Regions from separate parts of the Homo sapiens genome. Here all the other regions are linked to region 2. Evidence: promoter capture Hi-C in 16 types of primary human blood cells and fetal thymus (Javierre and others, 2016). All regions are on one chromosome and are shown on one strand. The core of a region is centred on a gene start or on the middle of the fragment in contact, and the rest is flanking DNA. Distances in the headings are between cores, read along the strand shown. Region 1 overlaps LOC124905236 (a long non-coding RNA gene). Region 2 holds the start of HTR2C (5-hydroxytryptamine receptor 2C). Region 3 overlaps LOC102724491 (a long non-coding RNA gene). Region 4 has its middle 300 kb from the start of XACT.

The links. The method cuts DNA at HindIII sites, captures the fragments that hold promoters and counts their contacts. A CHiCAGO score of 5 or more calls a contact.
Region 1: a fragment that was not itself captured here is called in contact with the fragment with the promoter of HTR2C in region 2 in 3 of 17 cell types (megakaryocytes, monocytes and M0 macrophages); the score reaches 7.7 in megakaryocytes.
Region 3: a fragment that was not itself captured here is called in contact with the fragment with the promoter of HTR2C in region 2 in 4 of 17 cell types (monocytes, M0 macrophages, M1 macrophages and 1 more); the score reaches 9.0 in monocytes.
Region 4: a contact is called between a fragment that was not itself captured here and the fragment with the promoter of HTR2C in region 2, in 1 of 17 cell types (M0 macrophages). The highest score is 6.0, in M0 macrophages.

What each region holds. Positions count from the first base shown.
Region 1 is chrX:113,934,555-113,939,688 of GRCh38, reverse strand. LOC124905236 (a long non-coding RNA gene) reads left to right here. Exons shown (of 2, transcript XR_007068366.1): 2 at 1,369-5,134. Among named protein-coding and RNA genes, the nearest start is that of XACT, 320 kb to the right of the region's middle. The HindIII fragment of the contact is 3,967 bases long and covers 546-4,512 here.
Region 2 is chrX:114,580,239-114,585,335 of GRCh38, reverse strand. It overlaps HTR2C (5-hydroxytryptamine receptor 2C), which reads right to left and starts at 1,250. Exons shown (of 6, transcript NM_000868.4): 1 at 677-1,250. RefSeq lists an enhancer at 1,251-1,750. The HindIII fragment of the contact is 1,634 bases long and covers 9-1,642 here.
Region 3 is chrX:113,973,286-113,977,963 of GRCh38, reverse strand. It overlaps LOC102724491 (a long non-coding RNA gene), which reads right to left. Exons shown (of 3, transcript XR_430542.4): 2 at 2,167-2,308; 3 at 839-986. It also overlaps the pseudogene RN7SL93P. Among named protein-coding and RNA genes, the nearest start is that of XACT, 360 kb to the right of the region's middle. The HindIII fragment of the contact is 1,184 bases long and covers 1,741-2,924 here.
Region 4 is chrX:113,913,429-113,918,312 of GRCh38, reverse strand. No RefSeq gene overlaps it. Among named protein-coding and RNA genes, the nearest start is that of XACT, 300 kb to the right of the region's middle. The HindIII fragment of the contact is 7,940 bases long and covers 1-4,884 here.

The DNA of each region.
Region 1 (5,134 bases), core at 1,280-3,779, 650 kb after region 2:
CAACCTCTGCCTCCTGGGTTTAAGCAATCTTCCTGCCTCAGCCTCCCGAGTAGCTGGAACTATAGGCGCAGGCCACTGCACCCAGCTAATTTTTGTATTTTTTTGTAGAGACTGGATTTTGCCATGTTGCACAGGCTGGTCTCAAACTCCTGAGCTCAGGTGATCCACCCACTTCAGCCTCCTAAAGTGCTGGGATTACAGGCATGAGCCACTGCCCCAGCCCTCTTTCTTGTTTTAGCAGTATACTTTTCCCTCACTCCAACTATGTGGTAGAACTGTTAAGCATATTACACAGCCCAGTTAACTATAGGGGTGGGTATATGACCCAGACTAAGCCAATCATTACATAGCATTCTCCTGGCTGGAGCAGTTCATCCAAGGGATGGCATATGACCCAAGCCAGATCAATCAGATTCTTTTCCTAGGGTTTTATTATACTAAAGTAGCAATTGAAAAATGGTGTCACAAAGTTTAGGACCATGTACTCTGGAGTGAAACTTCCTGGGTTCAAATATAATTTCCACTACTTAATGGCTGTGTAAGCTTAGATAAGCTATTAAACTTTTCTGTACCTCAGTTTTCTTATTTGTAAAACAGGGAGATCACAATAATACCTACATCATAGTACTGTTGTGAGGACGAATGTGTTAATACATGGAAGGACTTATAATATTTCCTGTCACATAGTAAATACTTATTAAATATTGTTGGTATTATTGTTGTGTTATATATGCTACTGTCATATTTGTTATACACTAGTGATTATTATGGGATTCTTACGCTGGAATGACGTAAGATTTGAATCACCCCTAGAGCAAGGATTCACAACATTGGAACTCTTAAAATTCAGGTCAAGATAATTCTTTGTTGCAGGCGGTTGTCCCAAACATCGTAGGATATTTAGCAGCATTCTGTCTCTATCCATTAGATGCCAGTAGCATCTTCCCAGTTATGACAACTGAAAATGTCTCCAGACACGTTCAAATGTTTTCCGAGAGTCAAAATTGCCTTTGGTTGAGAACCACTGTGGCCATTTTACCTTCCAACTGGAAAGAGACCATTTACTACAGGAAGGAATGAAGTCAGCGTGTAAAGAACAACTGAAAAAAGAGATGGGGAAGATGGAGAGAGAATGAGTCCTTAGGGCAACTACATCTTTAGTTCCAGTTTCTGAATCTTCTAAACTCTTCTTGTTCTTGCAGCTTACCTTTTGGTTTTCTTTATCCTTCTATTAAAAATCTTTTTTTTGTGTGTGCTAAATTAATTTGCTTGGGATTCTATTACTTGCAATCAAAAGAAATCTGACTATTGGTGTATACAGCTTATCCTCACTATATATATATATATATATATTCTGTGTCCCCTTAGGAATGTAAACACCATGAGAACACAGGCTTTGTCTGCCACATTTATTGCTGCATTTGCAGCATGTAGAATGGTGACTGACATATAAGAAGTACCAATTAAACATTTGTGGATGAGTCAATGAAGAAACTGTAAGTAGTTGGATGTTTTTATAGCTGAAAATTATGAAAGTGGGTATGTTGTATGTTATACGGGCAATTAAATAGTGTTAGAAGTCTTTTGATTGCAATCATCATTCCAGTGATGGTCGAATAACATGGAATACCATAATCAGGAATTATCACCTTAAAGATTGATTACTTAACATTGATCATGTGGCTGGGCAAGGTGGCTCATGCCTGTAATTCCGGTGCTTTTGGAAAGCTAAGGCAAGAGAATGGCTTGAGGCTAGGAGTTCGAGACCAGCCTAGGCAACATAGTGAGACTCTGTCTCTGTCAAAAAATTAAAACAAATTAGCTGGGAATGGTGGTGTGTGCCTGTGTCTCAGCTGCTCAGGAGGCTGAGGCAGGAGGTTCGCTTGAGCCCAGGAGTTCAAGGCTACAGTGATCTACGACCACATGACTGCACTCCAGCCTGGGTGACAAAGTGAGATACTGTATCTAAAAAATAAATAAGTACATAAAAATAACTTAAAAATAAATAAAAGCATGTTATTTAATGGGTGTATAATATTCTACCTTATGCATCTATCTTAACACTTCCATTATTGGATATTTGCAGTGTTTTTCATTTCTGCAATTAAAAACAATATTCTGGAGAATATCAATATCAATTAATAATAATAATACTGTCGAATAATTGCTTTCAGTACCTTAAGCTATGAAATAAGCAAAATAAGGATTGTAGTAGCTATGGCATACCAAGTAAGTACTATAAAACTCAGTTCTTTGGATGCCATCTAAATGAGTTTACACAAAGTAGAGCTAGAAAGTCTGGGTCACTGATTGACACCATGGCAAGAAGGATGTCTTCTTATATTTAAATGTAAGGTTGAATAGGTTGAAAATGCCACTTTCAGCAAAGGTGGGAAGATCGCTTGTGCCCAGGAGTTTGAGGTTATAGTGAGCTATGATCTCGCCACTGCATTCTAGCCTGGGTTGAGAGAGTAAGACCTTGTCTCTTAAAAAAAAACAAAAAAACGGCCGGGCACAGTGGCTCACGCCTGTAATCCCAGCACTTTGGGAGGCCGAGGTGGGTGGATCACGAAGGTCAGGAGATCAAGACCATCCTGGCTAACATGGTGAAACCCCATCTCTACTAAAAATACAAAAAAATTGTCCGGGCGTGGTGGCGGGTGCCTGTAGTCCCAGCTACTGGGGAGGCTGAGGCAGGAGAATGGCGTGAACCCGGGAGGCGGAGCTTGCAGTGAGCTGAGATCGCGCCACTGCGCTCCAGCCTGGGCGACAGAGCGAGACTCCGTCTCAAAAAAAAAAAAACAGAAAAGAAAAAGAAAACATTGGTCATCTTTAACAAAAGCTACACCACAGGGTCTACTTGTCTTCAGGAACATAAGAAATAAATTTTTGTTATTGAAATGAATGGTGTTTAAGGTAGGCAATTGTTAGAAATGATGTATAAGACCCACTTGCTCCTGCATGAAGGAGGTTTTAGAGTTCAGCAAAAGCTAGGAGTCTAGAGCCACGTTGGTCTTATGTACCTAAATTTCTCAGTCTTCTGCTGCCCAGTCTGACTGTAGAGCACCCTAGTCCTACCAGTGACTCCTACATTGCGCCTTCTTGAAAATGTGCTTTTCATGTAAAGTACTAGTCTTTGGGTTTAGGTCAGAGAGTGGGATCTCCCAGAGCTATCGAATAGATTATATAGTTTTTTTTTTTTTTTGCCTCCTTTCTAATGAACATTTGTGCATTGTATGTAATTTAACTTGATACTTTATTTTGTTGTAACTACTATCTAATAGCCAAGATTTGGGAGAGAGAACATGTAGTTTTCACATATCTTTTACCACCAGATGCTACAATATTTACAAAAACAAAACAAAACAAAACACAACTTGGCATTTGCTGTATTATCCAAATTGTTTTCACTCATCTGCAACACATAGAAATGGCTTAAAAAGAAAGGTAGAATAGCTTTAGCTTTATTCTGAGTTGGTGAAGAGCCACTAAAGAGTTTAAAAGATGTGAGTGAGTGACATCATAAGTTTTGAATTTTAGATGTCATTCTTGTAACCGTGTGGACAAAGGACCTAAGGAGGAGAAGAGACCGAAGGCTGGGAGATTAGTTAGAAAGGTTTTAATTTGGGTAAGAAACAAAACAGGCAGTGATTGCAGGAGAGAAAAGGAGGGGACAGATTATAAAAGTATACACAGTATTTAGAATAGGTAAGTGATTAAATAGGTTAAAGAAGGTACAGAAAAAGGAGAAATCATAGATGCCTCCTAGGTTTCTAGCTTGTATAATGGGGCATGATGGTGGGATCAAATGCAATAAATAGGGAATAGAAGAGGAAGTGCAGGCATTTGTATTTATTTCTTGAGTTTTTGTTTGTTTTGTTTTCTCTTATTTGCTTCCTTATTCTGTCAGCTTCCTTTATTTGCCAAATTCCATTTTAACACCCTGACTTCCTGACTGGCTTCTCTGTAGCTATGGTAAATGTTTACTTTTCAGTCCCCTTTGAGCTATGTCTACTCATACATCATTTTGACAATAAACAAAATAAAACAATAGTTAAATTCAACTAAAAGTGGCTGTTGAAAAGAACAACATTGAAATAAAACAACGTTGAATTGCAACAATTTGTCGGTGACTCATTAGCACCATCAACATTAAAGTCAACAAATATTTGAATGCCAACTCAATGCCAAGCACTGTCCTGGGCTCTTTAGAAACAAAGACCCAAAGCAGTTCAATAAAGTGGAGAGAGTGGTGATTTTGGAGTTATAACTGGATTGGATTTCTCCTTCCATTACCTACTGGGTTTGTGACCTTGAGCTAGTGGTTAGCTCCTCAGGGTCTCATTTATTTCCATTTGTAAAATGAGGAAGAATGCATAATAGAGATATCGTTCAGCTGTCATCTTAAGTGAGATAAAAAATCCAACTTAGCCCAGTAGCTGACATGTTGTAAGCACCTGATAAATGTTAGCTGCTATGGAAATATACTCATAACTGTACTCTCAAGAAGCTTACAGTCTATTACATATGTTTTTTTATATAAGCCTCTTACATCATTTTTATGATTAATTCAGAGAATAGCATAGCATTGGATCATATTCTTATCACAGAGAGGGCATAATGATTCAAAATGGTAGTACCTCATAGTCTTAGAGCAGCATGTTTTTCAAAACTCTGAATATAATCAAGTATAACATTTCAAGTCTTTGAGACTTACTTGAATGATCTAATGAAGAAAATGAAAAAACACAAACTCCTTTAGAATAGTAATAAAAACATGATATATTACAAACAGTTAAAGTATGTTAATTGGCTATAATGTAACACCAAGGGTGTGGTGGGGTTTGGATGAGAGGGGAAAGAAAAGAACTTTAAAAAGCAGAATTACATGAGGTAATACAAACCCAGAGTAATGAGAGTTTCTGCCAGATTGGGTTATAATGAACACACTGTGTTTTAATGAAGCTAGTAACTGAGTATCTTATTAGATTTCACTAGAATCCATTGCAGGCCATTTTATGGTAGCCCAGTTAAGATCTTTTATGAGTTTAGAATTCTGCCAGATATTTTGAAAAAGAAAACCTAACTTTATTACTCTACTTCCAGCATATAATTTGCTTGAGATGTTTGTCAG
Region 2 (5,097 bases), core at 1-2,500:
CTTAAGCTTACGTGATCACCAGCAGCGCTGTTCAAATTCAGCTAACAGCTGTTAGACCAAACACAGATCCGCAGTGTGTTATCTCCCCAGAGTTACGGATGTTCGCTGAGACCCGCCAGAAAAATTAGGGTCGCTTTTCAATGAGAACATAATAAAGGATCCTTGGTTCCCCCTCTGCACACACTGTCCCAAACCTTGCGCCCCCTCCCACTTGCCTGCTGTCGGATTTCTTAAAATTGTAGTCGGTCCTGCAACTCAGTTGCATCTTCCGCAGCCCGACCCTCTACTCAGCGACATTGCGTTCAGTTTCCCTCCTTTCTCTCCTCCCACTCCTCACTTCTTGAGACCCCACCCCCGCCTTCCGTTTCTGTCTCGGCTTCCCCCGCGCCAGGTTCTCTAGACCCCCGCCTCCGCCCAGCGTCTTCATCTCGAGCCCCCGCTCCCAATCCCCTTAGAGACTTCTATGCTCCTTCCGTGGAACCTAAGCTCCTCTCTTCTTCCAGAGACTCAGTCTCCTCGCGATTTGCGCGTTCAGAGTCCCTCCCCCCAACCTCCGCTAGGGCCAGTGCGGTCCTGCAGGCTGCAGCCATCCGGGACCTGTCCCCGCTCCCCACCCCATCCCCCGCCTAAATCGTTGGGGTCTCGGCTAGCAATGCCGCCCGGGGCTCCAACTTACCACTAGCGTCCGGGAGGAAGACCAGGCAGCGGTCGCCGCGGCGGCAGCTAGACGAGAAACGGACTCGGCTGCAATCGCCCAGCGGAGCCCGCGGCAGTCGGTGCGCTGAGCTGCGCTGCGCTGCGCGCCGCAACCTCGCGCCTCGGCGGAGGGAGAGGAATGGAGGGAGCTCGGCGCGATAGGAAGCGCCGGCGAGTCGACCTCCTTTGGGTGACCGTGCGCCCCCCGGCTAGGTTTGGCTCTTTTCGCTCCGCTATCTTACTCTAGCTTAGTAACTGACCACCTCCAGCATCTCTGCACTAATCGCGTCTTCTTTCTTCTTCGTTGGCCCCTAACTAACTACACTACTCTAAACGGACGAAGGCCATCACACGAGCGCCACGACGATCGCGACGACTCCGACGACAACGATGTACAGACAGAAGAAGAGTTCATATGCAATCGGCAGGTAAGGGGCAAGGCAGGCCAATGGAGCAGCCAAGGCTAGCAATCTAGCCGCTCCAAAGGCAGTATCGGGAAGATCGGTGCATCTGAGGAAGGAAGCGTCCTCGGCAAGCACCAGAGCGCCTACCTCGCGCGGGTGAATCTGCACCACGCTCTTGGGCCAAAAGCGGGATGAGGGGAGGAGCCAAGAGCAGCCAATCAGCACTCAGCATTACGTGGCCCCCGGGCCTGTTTGGACCGGTCTCTTAGTGCATCTGGAGCCTGCTGGCAGGGGGCGCGAGACCCCATGGTGGAGATGGGGGTGGGGGTGATGATTAATCTGATTCACAAGGCCTAGAGAGTAGGGGGAACCAGGATCAGCCATGGCACCGGATAGAGAGAGAGGGAAGGCTTTCTCAAGAATGTACCCTCAAAGATTCATAGCATACCCCTCCCCAAACACACACACACACACACACACACACCCCTGTACATTTCATTTCAACAAACAGCATTCTCAAGTCTTGCAAATTTCATCAAGCTTTGAAACTCCCTTCAAGGGTCTCTGTTCCGACTCTTGCCCATTCCTCCAACAGTAGCAACTGAGGCACTCACAGGGTCAAACATTTGGTGAGTGCGCAAAGGCCACAATCCTGTTATAAGGCCCACTTCCCCATCCTTGTCTCCCCATCCTTTCCCTAACCCCAAAGGAGAAAGAAAAGCTCTTGGCCTTCGAGCCCCGGGAAGGCACAGTTTAGTTCCTTTCTTGACCCCACAGGCCTCATTAGAAAGACACCTTGAGGGCAGCTCTTACGGGTTTCCAAGGGGGTGAACATATCTCTCTGGCACAGGGCCTTGGGCCCACAGCCAGTCGGTTGCCCAGTCGTTGTGGGGGAGGGAGGGGTGCTGTCAATGCAAGGTCAAGGCAGCAAGAGGTGAACCACAAAGGCTCTCTTTTGGCAACTGCTGGGATGCCGAGCTGCAACCGGTCAGGCAGAGCTCTAACCGGTCAGGCAGAGCTCTTTTTCACAGGCTCCCAGGCGCAACCGGGCAGGTGCCTGCGGTGTCCTGGCGGCAGCGCAGAGAAGGGTGAACGGGGCCCCCTTGGCTCAGAGGCACCAAAACCAAGCTGAGTAATGGAGATGATCCCACGGAGAATGGGGACAGAAGCAGATCTCTCCTAAGAGGGAACGAAGGGGCGAGCGGGGGTGGTGGTCTCGGGTCGCGGCCGAGGTTTCTCGGCCCTGTACCGAGGACCGGGGTGGGAAAAGTGGAGATTGGCTCCCCGCCTGTCGGAGGTAGCTGGACCGAAGCAAAAGATCGAGCCTCCGGTTTGGCTACTTAGGACCGGACGGCAGCGCAGCGAGTGTATAGAAGAGGCTACAGAGAGGCCGTACAGAGAGAGGCTTGGAGGACCTAACCCGGCAGAACGCAAAAGGGGTGGGAGCTGCCGGCTATTCTGAAGGCCGAAGTTTGCCTCAGTAGCCCCAAAAGTTAGAGATGGAGAAGGAAGTGGAAGCAATGATAAGGGTCAGGCCCCTTCCTTATTCTGGATGCCCTAGGAACAGTCATTTCTCTCTGTGCCTCTGTTTCCATATTTGTGAAAGGAGCTGTCCAGTCTATTCCAAAAGGGGCATTTTGGGAATCCTCTGATTCCCTCCATCGCCACTGAATTCAGGCTTTGAAATTTAATTTGGCAGTGAACATACTGTCGGCACCCAAGTTCTGTTTCGAAAAGCAAAAACCCATCGCAGTTTTCTTGAAGCATCTGTTGAATGCTGCTGTATGATGCCGCACAGGTGGCTGCGACAGCGCTGCCAAGTCCACCGACTGCACAACGCTCGCATCTTTAGAAATGCTTTGGTAGCGAACAGTAATTTATAAATATGGAAGAGAAAACGTATGTCTTCTCTTTAAATAATTAAGCACTCATCTTTAAAAACTCCCCAAGTGTCCCCTTACTCTATGAATGTGGAATGCTTAGTCTTGCCTTTTCTGGCGGGACTCGTATTTATTTTGTCAGAGGCTGAGACATTTATATTACTTCAAAAAATGTAAATATAAATCCCTGTGATATTTTTGCTAAGCCAAAATGGATCTGCCGAGCAGCGAGTGGAAGTTAGCATCCGCCAAAACCTGTTCTCGCTCCCCGGCTCCCGGGGGAACCGGCTTGGAGAAATTGACCATGATAATAGCAATTATGAGGATGAGGATGATGGTAATAATAGTTTTTATTATTATATATTTCGCTCTAAAGGCTGTTCTCTCCTTCTCCTTGTGAAAGGCAAAAGTGCCGAGAGCGACCAGGGGTGAAACCCACGTGGTCGTTGGGAAGGTTCCCGCAGCAGCAGAGAGAAAGTTTGCTAGCCACGCGGCTTGCTGAAGCACGTCTGGGCTTCGGAGGTCGGGTAGAAACAAGCAGGCACGTTAGCCTTTGAGCGGCGCTCGCCGAGCGGCCCAGAGCCTGTAAGACTGAGCCGGAGCGGTCCGCGGCGAGGCTCGGGGTACCGGGTTCCGCCGGGACCGAAGGCTCTGCTTTCTTGGCATTTGCGGCGCGTACTGCCTCTTCAGGTTCTCTAGGCTGCGGCTCGGCAGAGCGCTGCAAGGTCCGACGGACTTTGGAGATTTTGGCAACACCAGACCAGAGAATTTAGTGTAAGGAGAAATTTAGGGCGCACTTTAGGACTGGGGAAGCAAACTCAAAACAAGCACATGCTGGCGCTTTCTGTCGCTCTGTCATTGCCAGAGAGGTTTTCTGGAACCCCTGCCTAACGAGGCCTGGGGAGTCAGCCCAGGGTTTTCACTGCTTTCCTTTCCGTTCCTCAGGTGTATGGAAATTGTCCCTGGAAAGAGGAGTTATTTACAGTGAATTCCTCAGGTTTGATTAAAATCCCCAGTGCCCCCCGGAACACGGTTTCCAAATATTTCCCGGTTTCTAAGGCTGTGGACTTGTTTTTACAACTTTCGAACCGGGGCGATTTCCTCCTACTACAAATACATATGTTTCCAAAACTACTGATTTAGAAATTCGGGAAAGAATTAAAGAAGATTGTTACTACGTAGGAAAAAGTTCCTCATCATTTGAAACTTTGGGAACTTTTTAAAAAAATAAACTGACTAGAAAGTTTACTTCTCTACTCATTATTATTTCCCCCTCTTGACCAGAGAGCCCTATTTTAACACACCTAAAGGATGACAGACAGGTTTAAAAAATGAGTGACAGGATTCTAGCAAAATTCTCGAAGGCAGGTATTTTCACAGATCAAAAGAAGCTACACAAGAATTCTACCGGGAGTTTTTTTTTTTTTCTTATTTACCACCGGACATAAATGCAAGGAATTTTGATAATACTTCTACCCATATTTTTTCAGTTTTAAAGCAAATTATCATAGCCAGATATGTTTTTGGTAGTAATACAATTGTATCAAATTATATTTTCAGCATTCGCTATTACTACTTAATCGTAAAAACCCAGCATCAGATCCATAATGTCCATCGTTGAGGCATGCCACACCTAGAAATAAACTTTTATGACATCGAACACAATTGACTTTTCCCTTACTGTGCCTCAAACATGGTCATAGACTTAGAAAAAAATCTTAGACATAGATAGCTTATTATACACAGTCTTTTTAAAGTTGGTAGGATTATTTTTAATAAAAAAATAACGCAGTAGAACTCTGTGTGCTGTGTAGGAAGGCAGGGGGCAGTCTCTGATCGTGTCAGTCTCTGTAAGTGAAACTTCTGTTTGGAAAGATCTTCTGTTTTAGAGAAAAACAACAATCAACACTGGTTCTCTGACGCTCTCATTGAAGAGAAGAGAAAAATACTGGAAGCCTTTTGGGAGGGGGAGTTGGAAGTTCCCATTGAAGGGAAGAGAAAAAGACTGGAAGCCTTTTGGGAGGGGGAGTTGGAAGTTCCCATCACATATTTCTGCCACGTCTAAGGAAAAAAAAAGGTATATCACAATTAAAAATCTGTGCTTATTTCTTTTATGC
Region 3 (4,678 bases), core at 1,083-3,582, 610 kb after region 2:
ATCAGGTGTTCTCCGGAGCTGGGTAGCTTCCAGACCTCAGCAAATTTCCTTATTGGTTTGAGTGATAAAAATAGCCCAACCAGTACCAGCCACGGATAGGAGATTTGCCACAGGTTAAGGGCCACCTCCATTCAGAATTCCTCCTGTAGTGGCCAATTTGTAAACCCAAAAGTATCTGCAACAGGTTTCAATCAATTTCAAGGTTTATTTTGCCAAGGTTGAGGATGGGCTCAGGGAAAAGAAACACAAAACCCACAGGGACATCTGTGATTTGTGCTTTTTATTTCAAAGGGGGCTTGGGGACTCCAGTATTTCAAGGGGAAAGGGTGGGCAGTAGGAGAACCAAGAAAGAAACAAAATGTTGGGGTAGGGTAGATAAAGCTGCAGGTGGTTCCATTCTTCTGAGGCTTTCATCAGTGTTCACTGAATCTACATTTTATATGTAAAAGGAGGGGATAGAAGAACAGTCAATTATGCACTGGCCTGTGCTCAGTGAATCTGCATTAATACGCATTTGTCTCAGTTGGGTGGAGTATGGCTTCTGGTCTTGCCTTTATTTATTTGTTTTTATTTTATTTTATTTTATTTTATTTTATTTTATTTTATTTTATTTATTTATTTATTTATTTATTTATTTATTTATTTATTTATTTATTTTGAGATGGAGTCTTGCTCTGTCACCCAGGCTGGAGTGCAGTGGTGCGATCTCAGCTCACTGCAACCTTCGCCTCCCAGGTTCAAGCGATTCTCCTGCCTCAGCCTCTCAAGTAGCTGGGATCACAGGGGCGTACCGCCACGCCTAGCTAATTTTTGTGTTTTCAGTAGAGACGGGGTTTCACAATGTTGGCCAGGCTGGTCTCAAATGGCAGCACATATACTAAAATCTGTTCTTGTCTTTATCCGTTATGGTGGCAGCACATATACTAAATCTGCTCCTGTCTTTATCCGTGATGGTCTTGTCTTTGTCCCGTACCTGTGAAGATAAGCTGTTAATTACCTTGTCAGCATGAAATTCAACAGAACTGTTTTAGGGTAAATATCTTGCGACCTATGAGGAAGTTCCTTGTGAGCAAATTGTGAGGGAGGCTTCCTGGGGAAGTATGTGGCCTTTAATTTTTGTAGGAATAAAAATGGGAGACAATTTTCTATGACTCAATTCCCAAGCTTGACTTTTCCCTTTGGCTTAGTGTGTTTGGGGTCCCAAGATTTTATTTTCCTTTCATAATCCCAAATTCATATACTGATCTCCTAACCCCTATACGGGGGAAGGAAAACATTCCCTTCACTCTCTGAAGATTCACTGAAATATCAACTGACAAAAGGCAGATTAGCCAGGTACAGTGGGCATGCTTATAGTCCCAGCTACTCCAGAGACCAAGGCAGGAGAATCACTTGTGTCCAGTAACAGGCTGTAGTGCACTATGCTGATAGAGTGTCCACACTGTTTGCCATCAATATCGTAATTGCCAGGGAGTAGGGGACCATCAAGTCACCTAGGGAGGGATGAACTGGCCCAGGTTGTAAGTGGAGCAGATGAAAACTCCCTTGCTAATCAGTGGTGAGATGGTACCCATGAATAGCCACTGTAATTGAGCCTGGGGAACATAGTGAGACCGTGTCTTTATAAATAAAATTTTTAGAAAGGCATATTAATAGGAAGGAAGGCATACAAATTTATTAACATGTACATGGAAGAATCACAAAGTAATTACACCAACTCTGCAATGGGATACAGAAGCTTAAACACCATCTTGAGGTTAGAGAAAAAAATAGGGGCTCAGAACAGTTATGTTGGTAAATCAGGTGATGGTGGCAAGACAGGTTATGGGAAGGGGAGAAGAAGAGGTCTGGCTAGCAAAGGTGGTCTTGTTATGTAGATGAAACCTCACTGTTAGCAGCCCTCAGGGAGAATACGTTTTACATGTTTTTTTCAGACCTTTAAAAGTGTCAGGATCTCAGTTAATCTATCCTAGATCCGGACAAAGAAAGGTCTGCCTGCATCAATGCAGAAATGCAACTAGACTTAAATGCTAAATGGTCACACTTGTTCCATCATAGACCTAACTTCTAATTCAGTAATAGAGTCCTTTCCATAGGCAAGTAGTAGTAAATTTATACAAAGGCCATCCATAGCTTTTAAGGTGGAGCTACAAAGTAGATACTTACATGATACAATTGTTTTTTAAGAGTCTAACGTTGATTCAGCTCTGAAATCCTCATGTTTGTTCTTAAGCGTGAAGTGGGCCATAATGCAGCACTCATAAAGAATTCTGACCTGTTGCAATGGATGTCATCTTGAGGAATGCAACTATGAAAAAAGTGCATCATCATCATAAGATATTGCCTATTATGACTAAAGTGCAATTCCATTTCTCACTGTTTCTTAAAGGGGACCATATTAAAATTTTGAGTGTGACAAGTCTTTGTTATGTGGGACTTTTTGGTGTCTCTGACTAATAGTCACTAGTTGCTAATATGGTATCCCAGTCATTGGACAATGAAAAATATCACCCATATGTGCAGGATAATACTCTTCTTTGAAAATTACTGTTGCAGCAATAGCCAAGAGTAATGGTATTTAAATGGCATTGTTTTCATGGGTAACTACTAAAAATTATAGAGAAATATACACAGTTTCAAACAGTGTACATTTAGTCTGTCAACTCCTGGCCACATAGTAAAGCCCTTCATAAGTAACCAAGAGCTTGAGATTTTTATATCATTGTACCTTTCATGCAGCTGAGAGAGGCATTATTGGTATAAGTAACTCCCCAAAGATCCCAAGAAGTGTTTCTGTGACACTTGTGCTTTTTACATTTTACATTTGAATATCTGTCTTAGAGTAATTTAAATGTAATTTGAAGTACAACAATGGCCCTATCAAAGATCATTCTCAGGCCAAGTTTCCTTGGATTAAGCAAGCTTTAATGAATGCTATTTTCTTGTACTCCATTTAACCAGTGGTAAACTTGGAACAGCTCAATAAACTACTGAAAGGGCAAGAGATGCAGAACCTAAGCTGAAAAATCTGTTTGCTATAGGCAAGATAGTGTTTCTTTCATGTTGCTCCAAATGCCAAGGTATTCAGACTCTGGAATAGACAGATTTTTAAAACCCTAATTTTTAAATCTGCAGGCATCACTTGAAAAATATAATGACCATTCCCACTGCTAATTATTTAGGAAATTAGTATTATAAAATGTGAGATTGGAACACCTCACTCAGAGACCAAACCTGAGAGTTACTCTTGGGTTACATTCAAAGATACTAAATTGAAATTTCCTTGGAAAAGACACAAACTGAAATAAATCTGAGAATGGCGATCTTTCTAACTTTCTGTGATCCTCCATGTCAGACCCATCTGGTCTGAAGAATGCTGACTGTGTAACAACTGTATTTGTAATATGTATCATTCAAACTTCAGTAGACTATGATAAACATTCTGTAACTGTCTATATCATTTGAAATAGAAGTATCTAGTATGCCACAGGGCCTTGCAATAAAATTAGCCTTGCTGGCTAATATCCAGAGAGGAAGAATAAATGTGTATGCGTACTGCGGGGAGGGAGCGAAATGAGAACTATCACTACCAAAATTCTCATGGAATTATATTTCCCAAAGACATGCTATCTATGGAGGCAGCAAAACCTTTCTGAAAAATAAAAATTAAATGAGGCTATACTTTTGATATAACAGACAGTTTTGTTTATATCCCCAAATATTCAACTATTGAAATGTTCCCTTCACACTGTGCAAAGATGATTTATTAGAAGAATGTATTACTATATTGTAGAAGACATAATGTTCTGCAGCTATGAACAAAAAGTCAAAGCTGTCAAAGGTCCTAATAAAAGTAGCTTTACAAAAACCTCTCCTTCTGAAAAGCAATCGGAACATTGGAAAAAATCATCAAAACAAACCTTTCTAAAACTCTGGAAATTAATCAAAGGCTTGCAACATTGCAAGGAGTATTTCTCCAAGAAAAACAGCTAAACTTCTGTAAGAACTGCAATCTCTGTGATGTGTTAGCTCGCTCTATTACTATTCTTCACTCCCTAGATTTGTGAGAGTCTTGAAATCAACAGCCTCACTACTGCAGTAGTCATGAAAACTTGCATTTTAGCAACCACTAGAGGAAGCAGAAACAGGCATGTTCTTCCACAAAACCCATTCCCTGAGAAATGTGACTATTTGAAATGTCTGGAAACTCCCTAAATAGCTCTATTCTCAGGGTTGTCTTTAATGGACCTGAATCAGAGCTCACTCTGTACAAATAAGCCTATACCTAAAAAATTTTCTCACAAAAAGTGGTAGTTGTTTAACACTGCAGCTACCTGAAGCAATTAACAAGAGGTTGACTAAAAACTTAAAAGGAAAAACTGGTGAATGAGACATTCATAACAATCTTTGAAAATGTCAACATATTTCTGAGAATCTAGAAGGCCACACAGGTGTGCAAGGCTGTAGGCTCAAGAAAGTCCTCAGAATGCCCTATTTGCTCAAGTCTAACTAATCTTTTTCTTTTCTTTTCTTTCTTTCTTTCTTTCTTTTCTTTTTTTTTTTTTTTTGAGACAGAGTCTTGCACTGTTGCTCAGGCTGGAGTGCAGTGGCACGGTCTTGGCTCACTGCAACCTCAGCCTCCCAGGTTCAAGTGATTCTCCTGCCTCAGCCTCCTGAG
Region 4 (4,884 bases), core at 1,756-4,255, 670 kb after region 2:
TAAAATAAAATAATTTAAAAGTGACTTTTGTTAGGTTGCCTCATTTGTATTTTACAAAATTTCTGAGGCCAGGTGGATAAATTATGAGAAAATTGAGGCAAAGACATGTTTAGTGCCACCCAAATCATGGGAACAAATTAGTTAAAACTGTGTTGGTGCAGTCCAAAGAGAGAGCTCTGAAAATTCCAAAACTGAATCAAGGTCTGAACTTAGGAGGTTTGAGGTTTCCTACTGCCAGTGGCCCACCAATCAAGCATAACCTAAATCCTGGCTAAATCCTAAGTCATTCCATGCCAGATAGATCATGCTAAAATGCAATCATGGATTATAGTTGACTCTCTGAGGTAAGAGTTATAAGATAACAATGAGATTCCAACATCAAAAACCTAATTCGTCTCAGCTTCTCATACTAAAACAGCTAGGGTGGAGGAGCAAAATCGTCTTAAAGTAGCATTACCCATTTTCCTTGTTTTGATATTATACTTAAGCAAAATGTTACCATTGAGGAAAACTGGATGAATGGTGCATGGGAGCTCCCTGTACATTTTTTTTTTCAACTTCCCGTAACTCATAATTATCTCGAGATAAAAATTTTAAAAGATAGCATCACACATCAAAATCTTGTACTATTTGGTACTTAATTCATTTTTCTTTTTTTAAAGTGTAGCTTTATTGGACTGAGATTGGAATTTAATATTTAAAGACCTACGACAATAAATAAATAAATAAAGGAGTCACTTCCCAAAATGAAAGATAAACTTTGAAACTCAATGAGGCTGGGCGTGGTGGCTCACACCTATAATCCCAGCACTTTGGGAGGCTGAGGTGGGCAGATCGCCTGAGGTCAGGAGTTTGAGATCAGTCTGGCCAAAAGTAGTGAAACCCTGTTTCTACTAAAAATACAAAAATTAGCCAGGCGTGGTGGCGTGCGCCTGTAATCCCAGCTACTCAGGAGGCTGAGGCAAGAGAATTGCTTGAACCTGAGAGGCGGAGGTTGCAGTGAGCCGAGATCACCCCACCACACTCCAGTGTGGCGACAGAATGAGACTCTGTCTCCAAAAAATAATAATAATAATAATAAAATAAAAGCAACATCAGAGTAAGGAGGCTCCCCACCACTAGGCCTAGCTGGGCACTAGTTTGCATGCACTCAAGTCTATAGGCACAGATCAGAGTCCCAGTAAAAAAGTGATGGGTGGCATGGCATATTATTACTGTGGGTTGGTATTGTTCCTCAGGCATTGTCTTTCTTTACCTTATGTTTCAGGCCCAAACACTATTTGTGCAAGAAAATATCAGCCAGGGTGTCCATGGGAAACCCTTTTTCTAGTCTACTGCAATCAATACTCTTGTGAGTTAGGCCCTTGCAACTGAAGAGAAAGCTCCATCGATTATGGTTAGCTTTAATCTGTTCTGCAAGGGGGTTCAGATATTCCTGGGACCTACACAACACTGTTAAAATAGTGCCCTATTGAGAACAGCATTGCTCAAGCTATGACAATGCTACACACTAAGTAGGCAGGACCCTTGTGACAACTCAAGTATGAAACTGGAGTGCCCTATTTACCTATGCTTGGTCCTGCTGTTTTCTTCTCTTTGTTTCATTTACCTGTATTTATTCATGATCCTCTGCCTCCAGACTGCTTTCTTGAAAATATATCCTTACCATTATCTCCATTATAACTCATCTCTTTATTATCATTCTCCATCATAATCTTAAGTTCCTTCACACGGGCCCCCAAATATCCAAAGATCCATACTGTGGTATTCCACCCTGATTATCCTGATGTGGACATTAACCTCATGGTTAGGTCCTTTCTCTCTATTTTCAGCCCATGAAAATTTACCCATTCTGTGTCTCATACAAATGGAGTTCAATTACGGTATGTTACACTGAAAGAATCTGATCAACTAATATATTAAACTCTAAATTAATTTTTTGCACCAATGATTATTGAGAACCTACTATATGCAAGGCATATTCTAGGCAATGAGGTTATAAAGATTAATAAAATAAATTCTTTGCTCTCAAGGAACTTACATGATAGTGGGGGAGACAGAACATAAACAAATAAACAAGCATGTAATACAATGTCTAATAGTGGAATTCCCTATGGAAAAAATATAAAATAAAGCAGGATAAAAGAATATAGAGGTTATTTTATTTTCTAATTTGGTCTTGAGGTCTTTCTTAGGAGAGTGGCTATAAACTCTAGCCTTGCCCTGATGGGGTTCCAGGGGATTTGGTCATGGTTATTTACAGTGTGCCTTTCACAGGATATTTCTTTATCCTGACTGACAGCTAATGCCTAAGTGTCTGACCTGTGACCGAGTGTCCCTCTCACAGAAAACTTGTTTATACTGGCAGATGCCCTTGTGGCTCTTGTCTGACCTGTGTCTAGTTTATTCTTCCAAGATAGCCACTCTCTAGGAGAGCTCTGACTGGGAGAGAAGTTAGGTGTGGGTGTGTGGGTCAGGTAAGACACAGAGGAGACAGCACAACAAAACAATGAAAAGACAGAGGCAGTGCATCAGTTACAGGTCCACAAGAGAAGAGAGGTATTGATGAAGGTCGACTGGAAGGTAAAGAGGGCACTGTGCTCAACCAGGAAATATGGAGCCAGTTAGAGGAGAACCCGTTGATGCAGGATTTTTCTTGTTGGTCACTTTGCAAGCCAGGGACCCCCAGGTGGTGATGCCCCACCTGGGCCTCTCTCGGCCATGCTGGCATGCCCCAGCTCGCCTGCGTTATAGCTTGTACTTGCATTTGGAGTTCCTGAGCTCTTTTACCATGCCCAAGAAGAATGAGGATATGTGGGACATTGGAGAGTGAGGAGGGCGGAGAATTTTATTGAGCAATGAAAATGGCTTTCAATGGAGAGGGGAGGGCAGGGGAGGGGAGGGGAGGGGAGGGGAGGTGGGGAGGGCAATGGTTCCCCCATGTGGCTGGGTCTGGGGCCCTTTATGGACTCAGAATGGGGAAAGTGTGCTGATTAGTTTTGAGTATGCAAAAAAGGTTAAAGCGAAGACAGCACACAAAGGTGGGCATGACAGTGTAGAAAAACCAATAGGAAAGGGTAGGTATATGTAAAATAGGCGAAAGGTGGGGACCAATCAGAGGAAAGCATGCCAAACAGGAAGACAAGTTCTCAATTCAGTCTGACGATTTAATCTGTAGCTTGGCTTTCAGGCTATAAACTGTCTTCGACTTGGAGATGGTGTTTTGCTAGGGACCCGCCCCTATCTGTCTAGGCATTTGTCTGCCTCTATCACTGTGGGCAGAGGCCTTTATTGGGGTCAAGGGTATTACCCTTGCCCTTGGTTTTCTGAAGAGAGTTCTAATTGGTGAGTTTAAAGCAAGCAGGCACAAATTCTGTGGGGTCACAGAGAGATAGTGACTGAGACATAGTCACTGTGGCAGATCCGTGCAGTCTATACGGGATGTGGGATGAGTGGGGTGAGTGCAGTAGGTTGTTATTCTATATGTCCCATAGGGAAGTGGTCACCAGGAGGCAGCTATATAGAACAGATATTTGGATTGATAACACTGGAACTGAGAGGAGGCGGAGAGCTGGAAATTGTCAAGGGCGACTAAGCCCGGCTTCTGGTATGATAAAATCTAACTTATATTCAGAATGGATGCCAAGGCAATATGAAATTGTAAGTATTTACTATAAGAGAATAATCACAAGGAGGGGCTGAGAGGACTCGCTTGAATTGATATTTGAGCAGAGACCTGAATGAAATGAGAGAGGGAGTCATGGGAGGGAAAAAGTTTTAGGTAGAAGGCATAGCAAGTACAAAGATTGAGTGAATAGAAGTAAATTATTGCATTAGTTTTTTGGCTTTCTCTAGGGCCCATACCAATACTTTTGTAAATTTCAGTTTTTATTGTGAATATTCCTTGCAACCTTAATTCCCTGGAGGCCCCACAAGATGGTAGGCTGTAAAAGGTCATAGTAAGAGCAATATTTAATTGTTTTGAAAGTTTCCTTCCTCCCTGTGCCTGCCAGATGCAGATTAATTCTGCATCTAATCCTTACTATTTTCCAAATAACCAGAATCTACAATGGAATACACTATTTTTCTCCCAAAGGGCCTGAGGAATCTTAAATTGACTGGTCAAAGTTCTGCTTTGTTCTGCTCCATTGTATAAAGACACATTGTCTTGACTGTCAGTGACAGTCACATTTAATCAATAAAGATTATTAAGATTGACAAAGTGACAGTCTTGCTCCCTGTGAGTTCCTTTCATACTAATTGGTTTAGCTCTTAAAGATCACAGTCTATCCCTCCCTGCAAAAAGACCACTGCACATGATGTCATTTTTCTTTTCAACTTCTTTTTCAATGTTTTTTTGGTTTTTCTGTTTGTTTGTTTTTTTCCTCCTCTCCATTGATTCTGATGCAAGGATCACCAGCTCTATTTTCTATGAGATACACTATTATGTTGTTAAAGTATCTTATTTGGTCATTCTGTGTCAAAACATCTCCCACAGATTATGATTCTGCAAGGTTCTGCCCTTGGTTACTTGCAATTATGGCTGAATAAAATCCTGGGCAATTACTTCTGGATTTAATTATCATAAGCACGCACATAACACACTTGGTGCAGTCAGGTGTAATACCCAAATAATTCATATCTAAGATTTAGAGTTCTATAAGGGAAACTTGGTTGTAGTAATTAATTTGGATGATCTCTTTAAGCTCCCATAGCATTTTATTTTAAAACAATTGACACCTAGGCCGGGCGTGGTGGCTCATGCCTGTAATCCCAGCACTTTGGGTAGGCTGAGATAGGTGGATCACCGGAGTTCAGGAATTTGAGACCAGCCTGGCCAACATGACAAAACTCCGTCTCTACTAAAAATACAAAAATTAGCTG